Regions from separate parts of the Homo sapiens genome. Here region 1 is linked to region 2. Evidence: promoter capture Hi-C in human tissues and cell types (Jung and others, 2019). All regions are on one chromosome and are shown on one strand. Each heading gives the region's core, a stretch centred on a gene start or on the middle of the fragment in contact. The rest is flanking DNA. Distances are from core to core; before and after follow the strand shown.

Evidence for each region. The method cuts DNA at HindIII sites, captures the fragments that hold promoters and counts their contacts. A contact is called where the count stands out against the background at its distance.
Region 1: a contact is called between a fragment that was not itself captured here and the fragment with the promoter of SORBS1 in region 2, in 1 of the 25 tissues and cell types used here (IMR-90 fibroblasts).

Annotation. Positions count from the first base shown.
Region 1 is chr10:95,894,654-95,897,499 of GRCh38, forward strand. The region is part of intron 2 of ENTPD1-AS1 (ENTPD1 antisense RNA 1); the gene reads right to left. Among named protein-coding and RNA genes, the nearest start is that of CC2D2B, 12 kb to the right of the region's middle. RefSeq lists a silencer at 1,526-1,726. The HindIII fragment of the contact is 3,110 bases long and covers 28-2,846 here.
Region 2 is chr10:95,560,011-95,562,730 of GRCh38, forward strand. SORBS1 (sorbin and SH3 domain containing 1) reads right to left here and starts at 1,361. Exons shown (of 33, transcript NM_001034954.3): 1 at 1,310-1,361. RefSeq lists an enhancer at 944-1,706 and silencers at 1,191-1,300, 1,341-1,710. The HindIII fragment of the contact is 4,090 bases long and covers 1-2,515 here.

The DNA.
Region 1 (2,846 bases), core at 333-2,832, 330 kb after region 2:
TGGAACTGGAGACCATTATTCTAAGTGAAGTAACTCAGGAATGGAAAACCAAATATCGTATGTTCTCACTCATAAGTGGGAGCTAAGCTATGAGGACACAAAGGCATAAGAATGATACAATGAACTTTGGGGACTTGGGGGAAAGGCTGGGAGAGGGGATGAGGGATAAAAGAGTATACATTGGGTACAGTGTACACTGCTTGGGTGATGGGTGCACCAATATCTCAGAAATCACCACTAAAGAACTTCTGCACGTAAGCAAACATCACCTGTTCCCCAAAAACTATTGAAATAAAAAATATTAAAATGAATAAACATCATATATAATTTGGTTTATCCAGTAAATGACTAACTTTAAGAGAAATTCACAAATTGATTTTAAATGATTTAAATTTTTGTAACAAATTAGAATCCCTTATGCTTGATAAAACAATTAGTAAAACTAAGTAGAATCAAGTAATCTTTTCTGCATTTTAGTGTTCCTGATTCTTTTGAGCAAATATAGAAGGCCTGAAGACAATTTCATTTTAGAGTTTAAGAATTTTTCAGAATTTGTTTGATCCAAATCCCTCCATGTACTGGGGTCACTTGTGACAAGAAAAAAGAAAACCTTGACCATGGTCACATGGTAAGTCGGTAGCAGAACTAGACAAAAACTCAGCTCTCCTGATTTCTAATCTAATACTTTTTTCATTATCCCATGCAACCTCCCACATTTTCAGAACAGAAACAGAAAAATTAGAAGGAGAAAAGTAACCCAAACTCATAGGACTGTATCTTTTTTGGATTCCTACAAATACTCTTAAGCTTTGTTTCAGGAAGCAGTTACTTGGAAACAGTTTGATCCTTTCAGGTCTCGCTGTTAAGACTTATTAGGTAAGATCAGAGTAGTGTTTAGTCTAGAGTTCATTCCCCACTATTGAGACAAGGCCCTTCTGAACTCTACCCAGCATCCTGTGAATTATGAGGTTTTCCATAGATCAGAGTAGTGTTTAGTCTAGAGCTCATTATTCCTTACTATTATGAGGTTTTCCATAGATCAGAGTAGTGTTTAGTCTAGGGCTCATTATTTCCCACTATTGAGACAAGGCTCTTCTGAATGCTACCCAGTATCCTGTGAATTATGAGGTTTTCCATAACCTCATAATGGCTGGTGGGAAAAGTCCCTATTGCCAGCCCTAAGTGAGCTCCAAGTACTGTTCCTTCTAATCTTCTAGAGTAGCTCTTTCTCCAGCCTCAGGTACTTTCCTGAAATGCAGGGAAACCTTCTGCATTCCAGGAAAGTATCTGAGGGTTGGTAAAGAGTACCCTAGAATACTCTCCCTGGGCAGTACTCTCTTGTCCAGTGCTAGCTGCCTTGGTTTCCCAGGCGTCTCAGTTCTGTCCCCTTAACTTGGCAGTGACTTGCTCCATCATGATTCCCACTTTCTGCACCATGACCTGGAAACTCTCTCAAGGCAGCAAGCTGGAACATTTCTCAGAGATCACTGTCCTTCATTGCCTGATATCCAACTTCTTGGAAATTGTTGTTTCATATATTTTCTTCACTTTTTTTTTTGTTGTTTCAGGTGGGAGGGTTAATCTGGTCCCTGTTACTTCCTCTTATCTGAAAGCAGAAGTCCCAGTGGCGTCATTTTTTTTTTCTTACTCTGAAATCTTGGGTCTAACAACTCTCTCCTACTTTATGAATTGGCTAATAACAATTCCTTTTCTTTTAATAGCCTTTTCTTTTATCTGTTCTCATAATGAGAAGCACAATTAAATGCTTATAAAGCTTTGGTAAGAGGTACTTGGCAAAAATAAACAATTTAAGTATGATGACTACTGACAAAGACTCTCCTTAAGCAAAATTTAGTCAGGTTCCTTTGAGCCCATTCTCTACTAGGCCCGGTACTTGGGCCTTGTCCTCAAGAGCAAGAATCCTGTTAAGTCAGTTTTGTAAGAATCCCATCCTCATATCTGACCTCCTTCAATATCTGATCAAATTCCTCATCCTCCATTGCCCCCGAGGTGTTGTCTGATCATCCTGGCCTGCCTTCAGCAAGAATCCTGTTAGGTCTGTTTAACCAGAATTACCTCTTACCTTGATGTTTCCTCCTAGGAATTTTCCATCCACCGACCCCACTCTGTTCCTTGGTATGAATCCCCCCTTATTCTTCTTCTTTTCAGAACTGAGCACAGTTCTATACTCAAGTCCCTTACTTTATTCCAATAGTTCCTGAGTAAAATCTATTTTTTACTGCTTTCTTTACTGTCTAGCTCTGGTTTTAATACTATGTCTAATTTTACATAAAAATCCTTTATCACATATTCCACACTTTGAAACTCTAGCACTATCAACACCTAAGCTGAAAATGGTCTCTTATCCCTTAAAATTAAGGTTGTAAAAGTATTAAACTAAACAATAAAAAAAAAATCCACCTTGTTGTCATTGGCTCTAATTCTATATACTCCAAATACAAACAACTGTAGTGATTATGTCCCATTTAAGATTCTCTGCATTCCCTTTCCACATATTGGGAATTATTTCTATAAAGGCAGTAAGCAGGGTCAATGAAAACTTTAATCATTGCATTTTGGAGCCAAAGGGGACCTCAGAAAATCAATTTCTAATTGCTGTCTTTGTGGAGGTCAAAAACTGAAGTCTTGAAAGAATTTAACTGTCTTACTACTATATTATAGGAGACATGAGACTCAGTCATTATCCATCTTGAATTTTTAGTGATTTAAAATGTAGTATTATAGGCCGGGTGCGGTGGCTCACGCCTGCAATCTCAGCACTTTGGGAGGCTGAGGCGGGCGGATAACGAGGTCAGAAGATCGAGACCATCCTGGCTAACACAGTG
Region 2 (2,720 bases), core at 111-2,610:
CACAAGGAGAGTGAAGACAGCCAATCCATCCCCCGCCTCCACTTAAGAGGAAAAAAGGGCGCGGGGGGCTGGGCGGGGGGGGGGGTGTTGAGGGGAGAGATGGAGTCAGAGGCCTGACACGCCAGATAGGTTCCATGATGTCTCTAGATGAACCTCCCTCCTATTGACGATGAAACCAATTCCAGCAATTTCAGCAGGTCGGCCCTGTGACAACAGGGGCATCCCAACGCTCAGTGTTTAAAACAAAAATCCAAAGGCTCGCCCAGAACATGCTGGGAAAAACCGAGGACTGAACAAAACGAGCCATGCTCAGTGGGATCCCTTCTGCTTTTACGTAGCAATGTAATAGCGTAATAAATTCTTGTCTGCCTGGAGAAAGCATGCACTGGTGAATTTCAAAGCCATCTTACGACAGCGGATGCATGGGGATGCAGAATTCGACAGCACATTCCCCCATGAAGGAAACATAATGACTTCAAGCCTCTTTCCCCTCTATCTTGAATGGCGCTACCACGTATCAAGGAAGCCACATCGGAAAGCAGCGAGGTGGTAGCAGGGGATGCCCGGGGAATTCGGAGAAAGGAGTTGCTTGCTGTCCATGTCGGTGATGAGCTGCCTAGCAAGATGCTGTCAGCCACTCGGGGAGAAGAAGGGGCACGGGCGGCACGGGCAGGCGCCGTGTCCCCGGCGCATACTAGTCCCCGTTCATTCAGGCGGGTCCGGCCAACCGCGTCGTCCTTGCGCCCCTCCCGCCGCCCTCTCCAGGGGATGCTGATGAATGAACACACCTGAGATGCCTCCATCCCGCCGCTCGCTCCCTCCGCCTTCCTCTGGCTGCTGCAGAGGTGCCCCTCCTCGGTAGTTTCACTTTACAGCACAAACCCATTCGGGCTTTGATGTCTCCTCCACCCACCCAAATTGCAGCCACCCTGAGACGGGCGGACATTCTCTCCTAGCAGAGGCCATGATCGTACTACCCCACACCCACCAAAAAAGGAAATTTAAAAACCCCCAACCCTGGAAGCCCCCAGATCCTCCGCACCCTGGGGAACTTTCCTTGAAAGACTGGGGATTCGCCGAGCAGGCAGGATGGACGGTTCGGCCGCGAGGGACCACCGCTTTCCCTGTGCCCATGGGGGGATGCTCTGGGGGAGGGGGTCCCCCAAGTCCCTCCAACAGCTGGCCCTTTAAATGCGCCTCCTCCGAGCGCGGAACAAAGGCGCCGCCCGCGGGGGCCGAGCCGCGCACACCCCCGGCGCTGCCGCCGCCGAGCGGGCAAGCGCGGCCGGGCGGGCGAGCGCGGGCTTACCTTGCTGGTCGCCGGGCGGGCGGGCTGCGCGCGTCCGCCCCACTCGCACTACACGCTGCAGCTGGCCCCGCTCTGTTTTTCTGGGACTCAGCGCTGACTTCACCGACACTCCGCGGACAACCAATGGGCTGCGGTGCCCGCCCCCTCATTAGCATGCCTCTGGAACCGTCCACTCTGGCAGCGCCCGGCCAGCGGGCGGTGCCGGGGGCGGGGCCGGGCCCAGCCGTGACAGGAAGGGGCGTGTGCGCGGATGGGAGGCGAAGAAGTGTCCGGCGCCCGGCTCCTGGCATTGTGAGCCCGCCGGCCTCCGCCGGTAACGGGCGCGCGGGCCTAGTAACCCTTTCCGTCCTGGCCGGGCCGGACGCTGGCCTGGCGCGCCTTCTGGTCCTTCGGAAGGGTCGCCCACGGGGAGCTTGGAAGGAACCTTAGACGTAAAATAACAGTGATAAGTTATTTAACTCCTGGGCCTCAGTTTACCCATCTGTAAAATGGCATAATAGTCCGACTTCGTAAAATCTAGTGAAGATTAACATAGTTAACATAGGTGATGCATTTTGATCAGTTCCTGGCCGTCGTGCTACATAAACGTTTGCTGTTGTCATTCGTGTGCTCTGTACCAGCCAGTGTGCTTAATGCTTCCCGGATATTTCCTCATTTGATCCTCTTAGCCTGATAAGAGAGGAACGATTACTAATCCATATTTTTCTAGTGAGAAAACTGAAAATAATTACTATTTTTATGCAGGAAAACTGAGGTGTAGTTTAAGTGGCTTGTCCGAGGTCACACAGCAAGTGGTGCAACCAGGATTTGAACCCAGGCTCTGAGATTTCACTCATGCAACACACATATATTTAGAGGCTCTGTGGCAGTGCTGGACCCCAGTGTTAACTGCAGAGAACAAGACAGGCAAGGCCTTTTCCCTTAGGAAGCTTCCATTTTAGTGGAGACAAGTAAATAAATAAGATCCTCTACAATGTGAAAAGTAGAGTGCATACAATGCAACAAGGTCATTGCAAGTGGGGGGAAGGCACCGTGTTAGATGGGGTTCAGAGCTAACCACTGTGCTATGCCATTCTCCTGACCTCCTCTAGTCCCCCTCAGAGTTACAGAAAAGGAAACAGAGACAGGGATCAGAGTGGGGAATCTGCTGGCCCAAGGTCGCAGAGCCAGCAAGTACTGGTCTGGAACTTGCTCCCTCCATGCCCAGCTTCCCACATCCCTGAAGATAAGACACTCGCCCTTTGGGCTGAGCACAACTGATTTTTGTCAGCTGCCCTTGCAAGCATCTTCAGCCAGAGCACATTCTCAGTGAACAGGCTGTGGGTGGCAGGGTAAAGACTGGCCTTGATAACTGCACAGACTGATCGGAAACTCATCAGCAAAGATTCTTAGATGTCAGGGAACGGTGACA